Linked DNA regions of Homo sapiens: all the other regions are linked to region 4. The links are contacts of gene promoters, found by promoter capture Hi-C in blood cells and fetal thymus (Javierre and others, 2016). All regions are on one chromosome and are shown on one strand. The core of a region is centred on a gene start or on the middle of the fragment in contact, and the rest is flanking DNA. Distances in the headings are between cores, read along the strand shown. Region 1 overlaps PCNX1 (pecanex 1). Region 2 overlaps PCNX1 (pecanex 1). Region 3 overlaps PCNX1 (pecanex 1). Region 4 holds the start of TTC9 (tetratricopeptide repeat domain 9). Region 5 overlaps PCNX1 (pecanex 1). Region 6 overlaps PCNX1 (pecanex 1). Region 7 overlaps PCNX1 (pecanex 1).

Region 1 (2,700 bases), core at 201-2,700, 360 kb after region 4:
TTTGAGATTTCATCATACTGCTTGCATGTGTGAGTAGTTTGTTCTTTCTTACTGCTGAGAATTCCATTGTATGAGCAGGCTGTATATTGCTTATCTGTTCACCTGGCGATGGTTGTGTTGTTTCCCGTTTTTGGCTGTTGTGAATAAAATTTCTGAACTGTCTTTTTGAAAAGAGTTCTACATCCCCACCACCAAATTCCAGTAGTTCCCTTTCTTGCCAACATTTGCTTTTGTTGGCCTTTAGAATTGTAGACATAATGGGTATAGAATGGTAACTCATTGTGGTTTAAATTTGAATTTCTCTTATGACTAAAGATAGTAAGCATCTTTTGATGTGCTTATTGGCCACATACATATATATCTTCTTTTGTGAAGTGTGTCCAGAAATTTACTCATTTTAAAAATCGGGTTGTTGGTTGTCTTCTTTTTTTTTTTTTTTTTTTTGAGACAGAGTCTCACTCTTGTTGTCCAGCCTGGAGTGCAGTGATGCAATCTCAGCTCTCTGCTACCTCTGCCTCCTGGGTTCAAGCGATTCTCCTACCTCAGCCCCGCAAGTAGCTGGGATTACAGGTGCGTGCCACCGTGCCCAGCTATTTTTTTATTTTTGTATTTTTAGTAGAGACGGGGTTTTGCCATGTTGGTCAGACTGGTCTCGAACTCCTGACGTCAGGTGATCTGCCCGCCTCGGCCCCCCAAAGCGCTGGGATTACGGGCATGAGCCACTGCGCCCAGCCTGGGTTGTTGGTCTTCTAACTGTTGAGGTATGAGTTCTTTTGATATTTTAAATACAACTTATTTGTCAGATACAAATTACAAATATTTTCTCCCATTCTGTGGCTTGTCTTTTTGTTTACCTGACCAGTCTTAATGTCATCAATGTCGTTATTATAGATTATTTTACCCAAGTAAGAAGAACTTGTCTTTTTGAAATAAAATGTGAGTGGATAATGAAATCACAGCAAAATATGAACTTGTACATTCACTTTTGGAAAGTTCAGCTGATTTGGGGATTAGCAAGCAGGAGTGGAGTTTTTAACAATTAATTAAGGCATGTTTTATTAACTCAGAACTAGATAATCAGATAGCCATGTCAGTAAAATATATCAGTATGTAAATCTCACTTATAGTTGCCAAGCAATAGAGATATCTGTCTTTCCTTACCAGTCCCCAAAGCTGTCTTCTAAACCAGACTTTCTTCTTATACCTACCTTTTCCTTATCCTTCTGATTTAAAAAGCTAGAACAGCATTGCACATACTAAGAAAAAAGACTTGTTCTAAATATTGAAACTTGAAGTTACAAGGACATAGTGACCTGATTTCCATTGTATCATGAGGATTAAAGAAGTTTTTGGAGCCTAAGATTCTTGGTCTAGGACAGGTGTTAGTAAACCACCGCCTGTGGGCTAAGTCCAGCTCTATACCTACCTGTTTTTGTAAATAAATAAAATTTGTGTTTATGTTCTGTATTGTCTTATGCCTGCTTTCATGTTACAGTTGTAGACTTGAATTGTTGCAACAGAGGTTATCTGGCCCATGAAGCCTAAAGTATGTATTATCTGGCCCTTCACAGGAAAAGTTTTCTGACCTTTTTATTTCTCCCCTAATCTAGGGAGAAACAAGTCCATTAACCCAGGGGTCCCCAACTCCCAGGCCATGGACTGGCATGGATCTGCGGCCTGTTAGGAACAGGGCTGCACAGCAGGAGGTGAGCAGGGTGTGCGGAGCGAGCATTTCTGCCTGAGCTCCGCTTCCTGTCAGGTCAGTGGCAGCATTCAGTTTTCATAGGAGCATGAACCCTATTGTAAACTGCACATGCAAGGGATCTAGGTTGCCCACTCCTTATGAGAATCCAATGCCTGATGATCTGAGGTGGAACAGTTTCATCCTGAAACCGTCCTCCAATCCCCTGGATCCATAGGAAAGTTATCTTCCATGAAACTGGTCCCTTATGCCAGAAAGGTTGGGGGCCAGAAAGGTTGGGGACCGTTGCATTAACCAGTAAGCAGCAATATAGTGAGTAATTTCTGTGTGGGTAAAAACTGAGTCACCACTTATGATTATAAGGGGGGTGCTATCCAAGAAATTAGAATTGATCTTAAAGGCCTTCTCTTTAAAAGTATAATATATTCATTGAGATTGCATTATGAACACAGTGCTATCTCCATCAGATTATTTCTTGAATAACATTTCTATTATTGAGTACTTCAGTCATATAGAATGTATATGTTCCCCCAAATGTCTTTTAAAAACTCACTTTATACATTTACTGCCCATATATCTCTCTTTGTTTTTATAGCCCCTCTCTGCCCTATGAGTAATACTTAAAAAAAGAGAAGTCAGTGTAGACAGTGCATCAGGCTTGGAGGACACAGAATGAAGGGAAGGTTGGGGGAGGTAGGTGGTTAAAGAAGAAAATTATCCAAGAAATTTAAGAGACCTCTTTTGTTGTTGGTACTTGGAAGATTAGAAAAACACTATGGATGATTTGTTGTTCTAGTAACCACCTCCTTCCAAGATACATATAGGTAACTTTAGAAAAATGAGTGATGTCAAGAATGCAACAGGCTGGGCGTGGTGGCTAACACCTGTAATTCCAGCACGTTGGGAGGCTGAGGCAGGAGGTATCACTTAGGCCCAGGAATTCGAGACCAGCCTGGGCAGCATAGCAAGACCCCCATCTCTACAAAAAAGTTTTAAAA
Region 2 (2,700 bases), core at 27-2,526, 380 kb after region 4:
GTTCCATTGGTCTTTATATCTGTTTTGGTACCAGTACCATGCTGTTTTGGTTACTGTAGCCTTGTAGTATAGTTTGAAGTCAGGTAGCGTGATGCCTCCAGCTTTATTTTTTTTGCTTAGGATTGTCTTGGCTATGTGGGCTCTTTTTTGGTTCCATATGAAATTTAAAGTAGTTTTTTCTAATTCTGTAAGAAAGTCAGTGGTAGCTTGCTAGGGGTTGCATTGAGTCTGTGAATTACTTTGGGCAGTATGGCCATTTTCACAATATTGATTCTTCCTATCCATGAGCATGGAATGTTTTTCCATTTGTTTGTGTCTTCTCTTATTTCCTTAGCAGTGGTTTGTAGTTCTCCTTGAAGAGAAGCCCTCCCACAGCTGGAAAACCATTGACATAGTTCTGTTTTTACTAACAGCTGTCCATCCTTTCTTTCTCTTCTCCATTTATAGCTAGACATGTGGAGTAAGCCACCTAGGTCATCTGCTTTATTTCTTTAAGACCCATCCATACTTTCCTCATTGCAGTACTGAAATTATAGTCTTTGTGGTTGCTAATGATCATTCTAATTGCTAAATTGCTTTTCTTAAGTCTCCATGCTTTATGAATGCTACATCATTTAATACCTATGTATACTCTTCCATTTTGATATTCTCCTCATTTTTGATCATGACTTTATACCACCCTCATGTTTCTTTCACTTTTCAGATGACTCTCTTTTCCTTTGTTGATCCCTCTTTGTTCTTTCAACTGCTTAATTTATGAGAATTCTCTAGGACTTATGTGGTTATCTTCTCGGTTTACAGTTCCTTTCCAGTGAAGTCATCCTTTTTTATTGCTTTATTTGTTGCCTTTGTATATGAGTTATTTCCAGATTTATATCTCAAAGTCTTCACCTCTTTTGCAAGCTTTAGTCCTGTGTATCTAACAGACATTTTAAAAATAGCAAATTAATCATCTCCTGGTTAATTTTTCTTTCCCAATATCTTTGCTTTTGGCAGTGATATACCTGCTAAAAATCTTTGAGTCACTGCTCCTTCCTCCTTGATCACTAATAACAAGTAACCCAGTCCCTTTGATGACATTTAATGATTGTATATTAAAATTACTGGTTGTCAGTCTTGCACTATACCTTTAGTGCCCTAAATCATTTAAATTCATTTTGCGGCTCTAGTGTCTCCATGGTCCAATTAATTTTGTCCACTGCTTTCAGGTTAATGTGGTTAAATATGGAAAAGGTAAAAGGTGACAGATTTTTGCAACTAGTTGACTAGAAGAATAATAATGTCATAAACAGGGATAAGAAAGACAAGAACAGAAGCATTTAGAAGATAGGCGCTGTGGTTAAAAGAGTTTAAAGATTATCTGGAGTCAAATCTAGCCAAGGGCCAAATGCCAAACTCAGTGAGCTTGGCCCAGTATCGAATGGTAGGGTGGTGATAGATAATCCTAGTGAAATTGTATGGTATGCCATTGGAAATGAACTGAAACTTGGGAGAAAAGTCATGAGTAGGGAAGTAGCTGCATAATACCTTCTGAACATTTTTATGGGAAGTTAATAAAATCTCTTAAAAGGATACAGCTTAACTTATTTGATTATTTTGATATGAAAATGCAGATAATATCTTTATTACAAATACCATTGAATTATTTAGTAAGCTTGGAATTTATGGGCAGAACTAGAATTGTTGTTATAAGTGAACCCCTATTATTGTATATTTCCTGAATGAATGATGTCCTGTGAGAAATACTATACTTGTATTTAGTATACCTTAACTCCACTTGTATATAGCAATAAGCCAAACAGTAAGATGGCTCTGTCTATCATATGCTATTGCAGAAACTTTAAGATAGATACAAATAAATACATAATAATCTTATTTCCTGACTCTTATCAGGAAAGATTTGATATGTTTTTAATATCACAGTGACACTGGTATCTGGAGCTGATGTTTCATCTCTGGAACAGAATTATTAATATAGGTCATTTTGTGGTTGTGGAATATTTACTTAAAATCATTCATTTCAGGCATTTTGAAAGTTGGTTGTAAAATTAGCAAGACTTCAGGAGTGTAATTTGTCTTTCTGTTTCATTTTTAGAGTGTTCAACCAGATTCTTCTTCTCCCAGACATGTAAGTCACTCTTAATATGGCTGTACATTATAGGTCCTTAACATTTATCATAATATTTGTGGTTTGTTTTTTGTTTTTTTGTTTTGTTTGGAATGCATCAGCCTGAACTAAAATTTATGTTATTATTTTCCTCATCTATGTTTTGACACACTACTAGAAATATAGGTGTTTTGTTAGCTTGAAATAAAATGACATTGTACTTGTGGACTCTAAATCTTGGTTGAAAATGAGCATGATAATTCACTTTTTGATAGTCTGTTTCAGGGAGTAGACATGGTTCTTATAAACTCATGATTATTTGTGTTTAATACATTTTGAATAATAGCTTATGAATAGGTATTGAAAATAGAATTTTGAAGTAGGAAAAACTTTATATTATTTCACTTGAGTAACCATTAGGAGCAAGAATAAAGAAGTAATACCTGAGTCTGGTGTTAAGACCATTGAATAAAAACTTTGTTATTCACTTCGTGACTTTAGACAAAAATATTATCTGCCTAGCACTATTTATTGTGAAATGGGATCCAATTTTAGATGTAAATTGAGGTTTTAATAGAACAGAGGATATTCTA
Region 3 (2,700 bases), core at 193-2,692, 270 kb after region 4:
TAGTGAAAATGAAGAAAAAATTTTTGTTTCTTAATTCTGATTGTCCTGTCTGTTTCCTTTAAGGTACTCATTCTTTTTTATCTAGTTACAGTGATTTTTGTACATGTCACAGATGATGAGATTTTTGGGGGTGAGTGGCATTTTTGTATGGTGGAAAGCAGATTGGAATTAGTGTCTTGATTTTTGAATCTTGGCTTTGTTATTGATTGTGTGTCCTGTGGGCAAGACTCCACCTTTCTGAACCTTGATTTACTCATTTGTGAGATATTTCATGGGTGTTTTTCAAGAAAATATTTATGAAATAGAAGAAATTATTTACCTTCAGAATGGCCTTCAGTAAATGTCATTTGAAAAAATGGCTAATTGGAAGTGTTTCCTCTATAATGCTGTATGACTGTAGGAGACTAAATAGCTCTGGATTATTAAGTCAAATCATTTTCATAACATATTGCTCAATATATTGTTTTCCTCTGTAAAGCAATATATCCCTAGGTGATGAAATAGAACATTAAAATTTATGGCTGGGCGCGGTGGCTCACGCACTTTGGGAGGCCGAGGCAGGCAGATCATCACGAGGTCAGGAGATCCAGACCATCCTGGCTAACACGGTGAAACCCCGTCTCTACTAAAAAAACAAAAAATTAGCCGGGCATGGTGGCGGGCGCCTGTAGTCCCAGCTACTCGGGAGGCTGAGGCAGGAGACTGTTGTGAACCTGGGAGGCAGAGCTTGCAGTGAGCCAAGATTGTGCCACTGCACTCCAGCCTGGGCGACAGAGCGAGACTCTGTCTCAAAAAAAAAAAGAAAAAAGAAAAAAAAGAACGTTAAAATTTATTACGTAAGTGGTTCCCAGACTCCTCCAGTTGACATCAGAATCACTTGACAATGTTAATGATGTGCAAGCCCTTTCTTATTCGGTAGATCTGGAGTGTGGCCTATTGATTTGTATTTTATAAACATTCTAGGTAAGTTTAAATAACTTGATCAATATTCCTAACTACCAGCCCCTGACTGACATCCAGCTGCTACTCAACGTACCTCTTGGCTGTCTCACAGGCATCCCAAAAGTATCATGCCCAAAAGCTTCTGAATTCCCCCCTAAACAACACTGCCACAAAATGTTTTTCCTCACTCTGTCATGTTAGTTAATGGCACTGTCTGTATCTAGTTGCTTATCCCCCACCCCTTGCTTTTGAGCAAATCTTACCACTTTCTGCTCAGAGGAAAAGACATAAATCTGTGTCATTCTTTTAAATATTCTTTAAAGATTTTCTTTGGCACTTAGAAAAAAATCCAGAATCTTTATTAAGCCACCAGAGCTTATTCTGCCTTTGTTTACAGTTTGTGCAGTTTTCCCACTGTGCTGTAGTCACACTGGCCTTTCTGTTACTTTAGCCCACTGAGCCTTTTCCTCCTGTGAGACCTTTGCACGTGTTGTGCCTTCTGAAAGGATACTCTTCCTTCTTGCTCTTTGCAAGGCTGGCTGCTACTTAATCTTTAGGGCTGGACTTCAGTATTATCCCCTCACAGAGGCTGAGCCTGATAACCATAAATAGGTTCCCTCTCTTTTTTTTCATCATTCCATTCCATAACTTTCTTCCATAGCACTTAACACAAACATATATTTTTTGTTTGTTTACTTGTTTGTCCTCTCGATCATCCTCCACTTCCATACCTTGTAAGTTCCATGAGGGCAGGGGCCAGGTCTGATTTACTCATCAGTGTTTATCAAGTGTCTGCATGACTGCCTGGCTCATATTAGGATCTGAAGAAGTATTTGTTGAATGAATTTTTTATTATACATGTGAAGCTTTTTTAGACTTGTTAACTGATGTAGAATAGTTGGAGGTGGAGGGAGGATTGTGGTAGGCTGTATCATATGGTGGAGCTGCTTACTTAGGGGTTAGGTTCGGTGTCAGTCTCTACAAGACAAAAATCAAATATAAAATTACTGAAAAATCAAATACAAAATGACCCTTGAAAAACACTTAAGTCATTGAAAGTGCAGTACGTATGGCTTTTTGTGCATACAGCTGTGTGGTTATACATACATACATGATATATACAGTAATATATACCACATAAATCTGTGGAGAGATTATATTCAGACTCTAAATCATTAACAAAATTTATAAAGGTTTCAACATTTTCTTCCTAGTTGTCTTCATTGTTTTCTGTAACTGATCTTTGTCATCTTTAGAATGATATATCTTTTATTAGTGAGGATTACGCTAAAGCTCTCAGGTCATTTTCTTTCCCCCAATTTAAAAGTATTTAAAGATCATTTTAAACAAGATTTAGTTAGGGTGACTAAAACAGGGATTTTCATATTTTAAAATTTATATTTCTCTAAAAGTTTAGATCAAGCTAGAAAAGTTACTGTGCTATAAATTAGCAATTTATATTGCTATTGCATATTGTACATATGATTTTTAAGTATTATTTTCTGCATCCTTTAGGGGAAGGTTAATGACTAGTGGATGGCCTGTTTAGATCTATTAGCCTGTGCCCTTTACCAGTATTTTCAATATTTAGGATCAAAGTGAGTCTAATTATTTCCATAACTGGTCATGGCACAGATATAACTCTTATGTATTATATTACCTATAATAAATTAAGGGTACACTGTCCAAAGATGGTTTACACAGAAAACCATCTACCACATGTTCTCACTTATAAGTGGGAGTTAAACATTTGGATAC
Region 4 (2,813 bases), core at 165-2,664:
TTCTTAAGTCTGGAGTAGGATCCTAGGATTTGCATTTCTAACTGTTTCCCAGGTGATGCTGACACTGCAGGTCTGGGGCCAGCACTCTGACAACCGGTGCTCTAGAATCTTTCTTTTTCTTAACATTAAGGAAGGGAGGGCACTAAAAAATATGTCAGGCTTCTCCATTGACTCCAAAATCAAATCCAAACTCTTCATCCAAAAGCCCCCATAATCCAACCCCGTCATTTCCCACTACTTCTCATTAGGCTATAAAATCAAACCACTATGCCCTAAACACACCTGAGATTTCAAACATCAGGACTTCCGCTGGATTTCCTCACTCCGGCTATGCCACTTCCTTCTACTTCTTCATGCCAAATCCTACCCAGCCTTCAAGGTCCTCAAATGCTATTTCCTCCATAAAGCCTCCTGATCTACCACTACTCAAAAAGCTACCTCTCCCTCCCCCCCTCAGGGCTGCACAGCACTTTTCGTTCCTCCCCAATGACAGGCACCATCTGTACCTGGTCCAGCGACTCTACCGGTGGGTGGTGTATCTTCGCCTGTAGACTGGGAGTTTCTTGAGGTCAGGGGAGTGACTTGCCTATCTTTGCCTCTTAGCCTTAGCAGATCCCCAGTAGACAGCTGACACTCAGAACCGACCAAAAGAAGGAAGGAATGGGACCTCCTGAGGAAGGGCACAGAACTGTCCTGTAAATGGAAACTAGACCGGACGCACGCCAAGCCGATGACCCACAGTAACAGGTGTTCTCCATCTCTGATGTCTGTGATTCATCCTGCACAGCTGCGCGCACACAGCACACGCATACACAGGCTCCCAGAATACGGCGCCCCACACGCTGTACCGCCCGTCGCGTTCTGGACGCCCCGGCGACCACACACACCGAGACACACCTCAGCGACAACCTGGATCCACAAAAAGGAGGCCCTGCCCCCTTAAAAAATACTAACACCTTACTGCAAAGAACTAGCAGCTACGGCTTGCGCCTGCGCCCCTTGTTCCCTGCCGCACCTTTTCTTGTAGTTAAGAAATCTATTTCTGCACGCATTTCGTCGCCGCCGCCCCCCATCCCTACACGCACGCACACACACACACACACACGCACACACACACACTCCCCTTCCCCTACACCTACCCCCCTCCCCCCACCTCCTTTCAGACTAGGCGCGCCTCGCAGAGCGGGATTGAATGGGAAAGAGCGGGGCCGTCTTTGTCATTAATCCTCCCCTCCTTCGGGCAAGCCAAGCTTCTTCCGGGTCAGCGACCATCCCCGCCACCCCACTCGGGGCCACGGTCCCCCCGCAGCGCTAGTCCCGGGCCCGCGAGCACCGGCCCCCGCCACCCGCAGGTTGCGGAGGGAGGAGGGCGGGAGCGGGCGGCGCGGAGCCGGGAGGCGGGGGAGGGGCCGGCGTCCGAGGCGGCGGCGGCGGCGGCTGGAGCAGCCTCTGGCAGCAGCGGGGAGAATGGGAGTGCGGGGCGCCAGACCGCCGCGGGGTGTCACGGCCGCCACGAAGCCTGCGAGGCGCGGGGCCGGCGCCCGCGGCTTTTAAACCCGGGAAGGCGCGGCGGCGGCGGCGGCGGCGGGCAGATCGCGGCGCGCACCAGGCGCCGGGGCGGCGGCCGAATGGAGAGAAAGGGCTCGGCGGCCGGGGCCAAGGGGAACCCGAGCCCGCCCGCGGCCGGAGAGGGGCAGCGGCCACCGCCGCCGCTGTGCGTCCCGGGCGGCGGCGGAGGAGCCCCAGCGAGGGGCCAGGTCGGGGCGGCGGCCGAGCCGGCCGAGCTCATCCGACGAGCGCACGAGTTCAAAAGCCAAGGGGCGCAGTGCTACAAGGACAAGAAATTCCGTGAAGCCATAGGCAAATACCACCGGGCGTTGCTGGAGCTGAAGGGGCTGCTGCCGCCCCCCGGGGAACGGGAGCGGGACTCGCGCCCGGCCTCCCCGGCTGGGGCCCTGAAGCCCGGCCGCCTCTCGGAGGAGCAGAGCAAGACGGTGGAAGCCATCGAGATCGACTGTTACAACAGCCTGGCAGGTGAGCCGCGCCGCGCCCCCCGCGCCGCGGTCCCCGTTCTTCGGCCCGGTCCCTCCGCGGACCACTGCGGCGCTCCCGCGGTGCAGATTCTCCTGCTGTGACTGTGTTGCTCTGGGGAGAACCCGGGAGGGAGGCGCTTTGGAAAAAGTGTGACTTTCAGGATTATGCCTTTCAAAGGCCATAATCATCTCTTGTCCCTTCGCTAGCATACATCGTAAATCTCACCTAGAAATGACTGGAAGGGGACCCAGCTGGCCTGGCTATGGCTGCTGCTGCTACTGCTCACCAGTGGACCTGGGTCCAAAATGCGGAAGCAGCGCCCGGGGTGGGCCCCCGCAGCCACCGCTAGCCCAGCTTTTTCCTGCGGGTGGGTCCCAAGGGAGGCCACGCACCTGTCTGCTCTCCTTAGGTAGCATGAGCACCAGGATTGGTCCTCGCCTTTTCCCCAACTAACCGCATCCCTGTAGGTAAGATCTTCCCCAAGTTTTTTGGCCCCAGTAGCAAAGGGGAGTTTGACACCATGCCTTCAGCATCTTGAGCAAAATGGATTCCAGAATGCCACTTTCTTCTCTCTGAGCTCTGCTGGGGCTCCCGGTTGCCAGGTGAAGATCTCTATCTCAAAAGAAGCTTGGTTCATGGTTGGGCTTGAACTATGCTGCATTCTCCCTCTCCTCCCTGCCCGTTTCTCACTATGTGTAGCATCAGTCCTCACGCCAGCTGGCTGCTAGGGGTGAAGGAAAAGGGGGCCCTACTCTTGGGCAAAGAAGGTGTACATTCCA
Region 5 (2,700 bases), core at 161-2,660, 320 kb after region 4:
CTTTTTTTTTCTGAGATAGAATCTTGCTCTGTCATCCAGGCTGGAGTGCAATGGCACAATCTTGGCTCACTGCAACCTCCATCTCACAGGTTCAAGCTGTTCTCGTGCCTCAGCCTCCTAAGTAGCTGGGATTACAGGTGTCTGCCACCACACCTGGCTAATTTTTTTGCATTTTTAGTAGAGATGGGGTTCACCATGTTGTCCAGACTACCTCGAACTCCTGACCTCAGGTGGTCTGCCCACCTCAGCCTCCCAAAGTGCTGGGATTACAGATGTGAGTCACCATGCCCAGCCTTAGATTGATACTTTTTGTTTCAAATTTTACAATGCCTGTTTGAAGACAAGGGTTACTATCCTTGATCCTGTTTTTTTGTTGGCCTTGTGTTTCTCTGTCTCTTTTTATAGAATGAAATAACTCAATTCTTGAATATGGCTGCATGTCTTGTATTCTTAATTAACCCTGGGCTTTCTTCTTATTGACAGACGTAGGTAGTATCAGACCCCCAGAGAGTAAGCCTACATTTCTCCAATCATCTTTTGGAGACCTTTTTTCCTTTTTACAAAAAGGAAAGATGAAAGGGCCAGCAGTGGCCAGGCACTTTTGGATCCTGTGACCTTGGCATCGTGTCTGTTGGAACTTGCCTGTTTGTTTTAGGGAGGGAGTCCCTTTTTGACTGTGATTAAAGCATGTGTGCATGTTGTTAAACACACAGCATACCTTTTACTTAATAACTTTTTAATAAAAATGGGCAAATATTGGAGGTTATTGTGCTACTTGGATTTTAGTGTTTTCGTTTTATACTGTTTATGACAAAATAAATGGTTGACATAATTATTCTTACACTTTAGAGAAGCTGAAGTGAGGAGGAAGAGTCTGGCTTTTTGCATATTGCTGGAGATATTACCATTATAGACATACTGTTGTTTCTTGTATGTATTTTATTATATAATGTGTAAGATACTGCTACACATTATCATATTTTATATAAATTTGTTGGGTACTAAACAGTGAACCCACTGACCATAGTAGCTACATCGTGGTCATTGTTACTATTCTTTCCTTCACCTCTGCCTTTCTCCCTTTCATCTTCTACCCATCATTTCCATTCTTTCTTTTCATTCCTCTCCTTACCTCCTTCTCTTTCCTTTTGTCACTTTTCTACCTTCAAATATTTTAGCGCCCAATAGTATTCAAGGCATTCTACTTAGTGTGGGTTGGGGAGTGGGTCTTATACTGAAAGAGATTGTGATCTCATAGTAGGTGTGATATAAGTAACCAAAGATAAAGATGTGATATATGTTACCAAGGGGCCAGGCACGGTGGCTCACGCCTGTAATTCCAGCACTTTGGGAGGCCGAGGTAGGTGGATCACGAGGTTGGGCGATTGAGACCAGCCTGGCTAGTATGGTGAAACTCCGTCTCTACTAAAAATACAAAAAATTAGCTGGGTGTGGTGGCATGCACCTGTATTCCCAGCTACCCAGGAGGCTGAGGCAGGAGAATTGCTTGAACCCGGGAGGTGGAGGTTGCAGTGAGCTGAGATGGCACCACTGCACTCCAGCCTGGGCAACAGAGTGAGACTCCGTCTCAAAAAAAAAAAAAAAAAAAAGATAACGAAGTAAAAATTGCCATAGGAATGGTAGAGAAGAAGAGCTAATGATTTCATAGGATAAAATAATTGTTTCCAGCTGGAGAGACAGGCATGGCTTCTTGGGGCAGGTGGCCTTGCCTGATATGCTCTCTAGTTAGAAGTAACCTTTCTTCCCTGGTATCCATAATCCTTCCTATGGCACTTGTCATAGAGAAGAAACAGTGGAATATTTTAGTTTATGCAAAGCACTTAAATAAAAAACTTCACCCTCAAGTGTAAAAAGATACTGTTTTTTCTTAATCTTTACATTTTCATTTTTAGGAAATTTAATGAGTGAGGGCAAACAGGAAAATTAAAATAATCTATGTCATAATTGATTGTATCATGAGCATTAATATCATTAAGTGTTTTTCTACAGTGACACTTTGGGGAATGCATTGCATTTGGATATACTATAGTTTATATTCTGGAGCCCTGTTGTTTCACTTGTAAATAGTCATGATTCTTTTTGAGGGGAAGCATAATGCAGAAAAGTATGAAGAATAAAATATAACCACTCTATTATACCTGTTAAGAATGTTTTTGTCAACAAGTAATAGAATACTCAACTAATAGTGACTTAAAGAAATAGTTGTTTTTCACCTAAATCTGGAGGTGATTGTGTGGCATTTGTGTTCAGCAGCCTAACGTTAGGCCTCTGGATTGGCATCTCTGCAGTTCTCTAGGCTTTTTTCTCAGGGTTGCAGGATGAGCACAGCAGCTTCAATCAAGACCCTGTTTGAAAAGTTAGGAAGCAAGCAGTAGTGTGGGACAGAGATTTTCCTTGATCACTTTCTTCTCAGACACACAAAGACGTTTTCCTGAAGCCCTCCAGCAGATTCTCCCACACGTTCATTCACCAGAACTAGTTCATACACCTACCTCTAGACCAGGGACTGGGTGTACTTCTCATATATCAGAAGGTGTATGACCAATTTTGGAACAAAATAGGGAGATTGTTAAAGAAGGAGAAAGGGAATACTTTGAGCTTCTGAGCAAATGACTACCATATCCGTGTTTAAAAATTTTTTTTTTAAGTTTAAATTCCTAGATGGGTATGCATAAAATG
Region 6 (2,700 bases), core at 141-2,640, 300 kb after region 4:
TGCCATTCTCCCTGTCACTTTCAGGTACACCAGTCAGACATAGATTTGGTCTTTTCACATAGTCCCATATTTCTTGGAGGTTTTGTTCTTTTCTTTTTACTCTTTTTTCTCTAAACTTCTCTTCTCACTTCATTTCATTCATTTGATCAATCACTGATACCCTTTCTTCCACTTGATCGAATCGGCTACTGAAGGTTGTGCATGCATCACGTAGTTCTCATGCCATGGTTTTCAGCTCCATCAGGTCATTTAAGGTCTTCTCTACATTGTTTATTCTAGTTAGCCATTTGTCTAATCTTTTTTCAAGGTTTTTAGCTTCTTTGTGATGGGTTCGAACATCCTCCTTTAGCTCGGAGAAGTTTGTTATTACTGATCTTTTGAAGCCTACTTCTGTCAACTCGTCAAACTCATTCTCTGTCCCTTTGTTCCATTGCTGGCGAGGAGCTGCATTCCTTTGGAGGAGAAGAGGCACTCTGATTTTTAGAATTTTCATCTTTTCTGCTCTGGTTTCTCCCCATCTTTGTGGTTTTATCTACCTTTGGTCTTTGATGATGGTGACCTACAGTTGGGGTTTTGGTGTGGATGTCCTTTCTATTTGTTAGTTTTCCTTCTAACAGTCAGGACTCTCAGCTGCAGGTCTATTGGAGTTTGCTGGAGGTCCACTCCAGACCCTGTTTGCCTGGATATCACCAGTGGAGGCTGCAGAACAGCAAATATTGCAGAATGGCAATTGTTGCTGCTTGATCCTTCCTCTGGAAGCTTCGTCTCAGAGGGGCACCCGGCTGTATGAGGTGTCAGTCGACCCGTACTGGGAGGTGTCTCCCAGTTAGGCTACTTGGGGGTCAGGGACCCACTTGAGGAGGCAGTTTGTCCATTCTCAGATCTCAAACTCTGTGCTGGGAGAACCACTACTCTCTTCAAAGTTGTCAGACAGGGACGTTTAAGTCTGCAGAAGTTTCTGCTGCCTTTTGTTCAGCTATGCCCTGCCCCCAGAGGTGGATTCTACAGAGGCAGGCAGGCCTCCTTGAGCTGCGGTGAGCTTCACCCAGTTAGAGCTTCCTGGCAGCTTTGTTTACCTACTCAAACCTCAGCAATGGCGGACGCCCCTCCCCCAGCCTCACTGCTGCCTTGCAGTTTGATCTGAGACTGCTGTGCTAGGAGTGAGCGAGGCTCTGTGGGCGTGGGACCCTCCGAACAAGGCGTGGGATATAATCTCCTGGTGTGTTGTTTGCTAAGACCATTGGAAAAGCACAGTATTAGGGTGGGAGTGTCCCGATTTTCCAGGTGCCATCTGTCACAGCTTCCCTTGGCTAGGAAAGGGAATTCTCCAACCCCTTGCACTTCCCGGGTGAGGTGATGCCCAGTCCTGCTTTGGCTTACACTCTGTGGGCTGTACCCACCGTCCGACAGGCCCCAGTGAGGTGAACCCTGTACCTCATTTGGAAATGCAGAAGTCACCTGTCTTCTGCATCGCTCACGCTGGGAGCTGTAGACTGGAGCTTTTCCTATTCGGCCATCTTACAACTAAGAATTTTAAACTCAACTCTTTACAGGTCTAACATATTTTAACAATAATTAAAAAGGTTTTTTTTAAATAAAGACCTTATCAAATTGCACTTGTAAATTTAGTATTCATTTTTAAGGATTTAAATTATCTGACAAATGTTTGCAAGTTGAGAGGCTATAGAAAAAACAAACTCTTCTCCTACTATGCTATCACAGCACAGAACACTTCTGACAGCAGATGTGTGGGGGTGTCCCCACACACCAAGCAGTCAACCAATTTCTGCAGCAGGTGCTTCAGCAGATACCAGCTGGGTATCCTCCAATTCAATTCAATTCTGACACTGTCTACCTGGAGATACTATTAATACAAAGGATACAAATGAAAAGTTGCATGAGGCAAGGCATGTGGGAAGGGCCCTGGAGCTTCCATGCTGTCTCTGGGCATGCCACCCTCCAGAAACCTCCATGTGTTAGGTATCATGAAGCTCCTGAGTCCAAGCCTTTTGGGTTTTTATAGAAGCTTCATTATGTAGTCATGATTGATTACATCATTTGGTGATTAATATGGTTTGATTTTGTGTCCTCACCCAAATCTCACCTTGAATTGTGATAATCCCCACATATCAACTGCAGGACCACGTGGAGATAACTGAATCATGGGGGTGGTTCCCCCATGCTGTTCTTGAGATAGTGAGTTCTCACCAGATCTGATGGTTTTATAAGGGGCTTCCCCCTTCGCTGGGTACTCACTTCTTTCTCCTGCTGCCCTGTGAAGAGGTGCCTTTTGCCATGATTGTAAGTTTCCTGAGGCCTCCCCAGCCATGCAGAAATGTGAGTCAATTAAACCTCTTTTCCTTATAAATTACCCAGTCTCGGGTATTTCTTCATAGCAGCATGAGAATGGACTAATACAGTAAATTGGTACCAGGTAGTGGGGCACTGCTGAAAAGATACCCAAAAATGTGGAAGTGACTTTGGAACTGGGTAACAGGCAGAGGTTGGAACAGTTTGGAGGGCTCAGAAGAAGACAGGAAGATGTGGGAAAGTTTGGAACTTCCTAGAGACTTGTTGAATGGCTTTGACCAAAATGCTGATAGTGATATGGACAATGAAGTCTAGGCTGAGATGGTCTTAGATGGACATGAGGAACTTATTAGGGACTGGAATAAAGGTGACTCTTGCTATGCTTTATTA
Region 7 (2,855 bases), core at 260-2,759, 340 kb after region 4:
ATCCAACGGTTACATTTTCATACCACCTCTAATTACTGTCTTAATATTCTGGCAGGCCATTAAATCTGTGCCTCAATTTCCTCAACTGTAAAACAGGAATAATAACCGTCTAGACCTGTCTCACAGTTAACTGTCAGACTCCAATGAGCTTAAACCTAATGACTGTAGAAATGTGAAAATGCTTTATGTATTGTAGGTTCATTATATAAACAAAGACAGTGATGTCTTTCATTTGTAAGGATGTGTCCCCTCTCAAAAATGTCACTTCGAATACATGTGTTCATCACTACTGACCCTTTATTAAGGGACTCTCCTGAAAGTGGATGCAAAATTGTATCTAACGGGTTGATATCTTTCATCCCATTCACAAAGGACTAAAAAGGATTAGAAATCACCTATAAAAGTATAAGTAATACTTAAGCTATATTTGTTTGGCTGGTGGACTTGTGGAAAATATCAGTAAGGATGTGCAAATTATCTTTAACGCAAAGCTCAGCTAATAATTTTTTTTTTTCTTGGGACGGAGTCTCACTCTATTGTCCAGGCTGGAGTGCAGTGGTACAATCACAGCTCACTGCAACCTCCGCCTCCCAGGTTCAAGCGATTCTCCTGCCTCAGCCTCCCGAGTAGCTGGGACTGCAGGTGCCCGCCACGACACCCGGTTAATTTTTGTATTTTTAGTAGAGATGGGGTTTCACCATATTGGCCAGGCTGGTCTCGAACTCCTGACCTTGTGATCCGCCCACCTCGGCCTCCCAAAGTGCTGGGATTACAGGCGTGAGCCACCGTGCCCACCCATAGCTAATAATTTTGTTACTGTTTGCTCTGGTTCCTTGGCTTGTCAAAAAGTAGGCCAGTCCTTTAAAATGTTTTCACAGATGGAAATTATTTTAATTCAGAATTGATGCTTAGAAATTGGGCAGTGTTTGGCTTCCCAGAAAATGACACTTAAAAACATTTATTTATTTACTTATTTTTTGTTATTTCCAACAAGAATGAGCTTGAAAAGCATTTGTTTTTTCATTGGAACAAAATCTTTGTATGTTGATGGTAGCATCGTTCTTGGCTGACAAAGAAACTAAGAAAGGGAAAAACTATTTAGATAAAGTGGATTTCATGCCTAGACTAAAACATTCCTTTTAGAATGTTTTTGCAAAATTACTTGAATGTTTATGTCTTTATATAGTAATTTTGTTGTTGGGTAAAATCCCTTTTATCCTGAACATTACAATGTGTTTCAGAATGTTTGCAGATGCCTTTTCTTTTTCTGAGATATATATATACTTGTTTCATACTTTTGTCATCTTTCTTAAGAATTTAATTTCCTAATAGCATTTTTTCTGATCTTTTTGAAGTACTAAATGCCTATTTTTATTTTCGTGATCTTTCCAGATTTACACCTTTTCCCCCCACGATAAACATTTCTCACTGGAAAGAACACTTGAGCAATTTCCTCTGTCTAAATTTTTATTAATTTAATTGAAATTGAGCTACTGCAAGATGCCAACCATAGCAGTACATGACAACTAGAAAGTGACTTATTACATATTATTTCTTTCATAAATTAATCAGGTATATGATTGACATCATTTTTTTTTTGAGACGGAGTCTCACTCTGTTGCCCAGGCTGTAGTGCAGTGGCACGATCTTGGCTCACTGCAAGCTCCACCTTCTGAGTTCACGCCATTCTCCTGCCTCAGCCTCCCGAGTAGCTGGGATTACAGGCGTCCACCACCACGCCCGGCTAATTTTTTGTATTTTTAGTAGAGACGGGGTTTCACCGTGTTAGCCAGGATGGTCTCAGTCTCCTGACCTTGTGATCCGCCTGGCTCGGCCTCCCAAAGTGCTGGGATTACAGGCGTGAGCCACCGCGACCTGCCGACATCATTTTTAAATAGCATCTTTATCTGTGTGTATTTATACTCACAGCTTCCAATTTTTGAGATAGAATTTGGATAGCCATTACCTCCTACCTCATTAAATTTTGCTCTTTGGGCATCCCAGCTATTCTAAAAGTATATTAGTGCCTTTAATGCTTTCTATGCTTTTATTCACAGAGTAGAACCAACTGATAGTCTATAATTGTAATACTACCATAAAAAATAAATAGTTGCACTAAAATAATTCATTTTAGAATGTGTAGAATTTTCCTTATCTCATTGAGATAAATGTGAAGTAACTCCTGAGGTGGGAGGTATGTATTATGGATTAAACTTCCTTTGTTATCTTCAGGAATGGACCAGATCACAGCTGTCTAAAATGTAAGAGGATATTTTTGGTTTGTCCATGAATTGAACTTAGGCATTTAGTAAATGCTTAAACTTAATTGAGTGATTGCATCAGTATAACAAAAGGAAACAGCTAAATTATCTGAAGGGTCCTCTTATTTTTATTTTATTTATTTTGTTTTTAATTTTATTTTATTTTAGATGGAGTTTCACTCTTGTTGCCTAGGCTGGAGTGCAGTGGCACGATCTTGGCTCACTGCAACCTCCGCCTCTTGGGTTCAAGTGATTCTCCTGCCTCAGCCTCCCGAGTAGCCGAGATTACAGGCGCCTGCCACCACACCCGCTAATTTTTGTATTTTTAGTAGAGACAGGGTTTCATCATGTTGGTCAGGCTGATCTCGAACTCCTGACTTCAGGTGATCCACCCACCTCGGCCTCCCAAAGTGCTGGGATTACAGGCGTGAGCCACTGCGCCAGGCCTGAAGGTTCCTCTTAAACTTATTATGATTGTGAAGTCAGTCTTTTTAACACAAATAAATGATTAGAAAGTTGAGATTTGTACGTTAGAAAAAATACATTTCAAAATATACAACTCTCTGGATATATACCCTTGGAAGTATTTTATAC

The links. The method cuts DNA at HindIII sites, captures the fragments that hold promoters and counts their contacts. A CHiCAGO score of 5 or more calls a contact.
Region 1: a fragment that was not itself captured here is called in contact with the fragment with the promoter of TTC9 in region 4 in 6 of 17 cell types (naive CD4 T cells, activated CD4 T cells, total CD4 T cells and 3 more); the score reaches 7.5 in naive CD4 T cells.
Region 2: a contact is called between a fragment that was not itself captured here and the fragment with the promoter of TTC9 in region 4, in 2 of 17 cell types (total CD4 T cells and non-activated CD4 T cells). The highest score is 6.3, in total CD4 T cells.
Region 3: a contact is called between a fragment that was not itself captured here and the fragment with the promoter of TTC9 in region 4, in 1 of 17 cell types (non-activated CD4 T cells). The highest score is 5.7, in non-activated CD4 T cells.
Region 5: a fragment that was not itself captured here is called in contact with the fragment with the promoter of TTC9 in region 4 in 6 of 17 cell types (total CD4 T cells, naive CD4 T cells, non-activated CD4 T cells and 3 more); the score reaches 12.2 in total CD4 T cells.
Region 6: a contact is called between a fragment that was not itself captured here and the fragment with the promoter of TTC9 in region 4, in 2 of 17 cell types (non-activated CD4 T cells and total CD4 T cells). The highest score is 5.1, in non-activated CD4 T cells.
Region 7: a fragment that was not itself captured here is called in contact with the fragment with the promoter of TTC9 in region 4 in 5 of 17 cell types (total CD4 T cells, naive CD4 T cells, activated CD4 T cells and 2 more); the score reaches 7.0 in total CD4 T cells.

Annotation. Positions count from the first base shown.
Region 1 is chr14:71,002,657-71,005,356 of GRCh38, forward strand. The region is part of intron 8 of PCNX1 (pecanex 1); the gene reads left to right. Among named protein-coding and RNA genes, the nearest start is that of PCNX1, 97 kb to the left of the region's middle. The HindIII fragment of the contact is 5,736 bases long and covers 1-2,700 here.
Region 2 is chr14:71,021,105-71,023,804 of GRCh38, forward strand. It overlaps PCNX1 (pecanex 1), which reads left to right. Exons shown (of 36, transcript NM_014982.3): 13 at 2,096-2,128. Among named protein-coding and RNA genes, the nearest start is that of PCNX1, 110 kb to the left of the region's middle. The HindIII fragment of the contact is 751 bases long and covers 902-1,652 here.
Region 3 is chr14:70,911,445-70,914,144 of GRCh38, forward strand. The region is part of intron 1 of PCNX1 (pecanex 1); the gene reads left to right. Among named protein-coding and RNA genes, the nearest start is that of PCNX1, 5.3 kb to the left of the region's middle. The HindIII fragment of the contact is 727 bases long and covers 1,080-1,806 here.
Region 4 is chr14:70,640,502-70,643,314 of GRCh38, forward strand. TTC9 (tetratricopeptide repeat domain 9) reads left to right here and starts at 1,415. Exons shown (of 3, transcript NM_015351.2): 1 at 1,415-2,034. The coding sequence starts at 1,629. It overlaps TTC9-DT (TTC9 divergent transcript), which reads right to left and starts at 797. Exons shown (of 3, transcript NR_110071.1): 1 at 507-797. RefSeq lists enhancers at 310-489, 590-849 and silencers at 1,320-1,469, 1,690-1,879, 1,900-1,969. The HindIII fragment of the contact is 1,411 bases long and covers 1,249-2,659 here.
Region 5 is chr14:70,964,073-70,966,772 of GRCh38, forward strand. The region is part of intron 3 of PCNX1 (pecanex 1); the gene reads left to right. Among named protein-coding and RNA genes, the nearest start is that of PCNX1, 58 kb to the left of the region's middle. The HindIII fragment of the contact is 3,015 bases long and covers 1-2,700 here.
Region 6 is chr14:70,940,734-70,943,433 of GRCh38, forward strand. All of the region lies in intron 1 of PCNX1 (pecanex 1), which reads left to right. All of the region lies in intron 2 of LOC105370557 (a long non-coding RNA gene), which reads right to left. Among named protein-coding and RNA genes, the nearest start is that of PCNX1, 35 kb to the left of the region's middle. The HindIII fragment of the contact is 1,267 bases long and covers 758-2,024 here.
Region 7 is chr14:70,982,806-70,985,660 of GRCh38, forward strand. All of the region lies in intron 6 of PCNX1 (pecanex 1), which reads left to right. Among named protein-coding and RNA genes, the nearest start is that of PCNX1, 77 kb to the left of the region's middle. The HindIII fragment of the contact is 3,468 bases long and covers 1-2,855 here.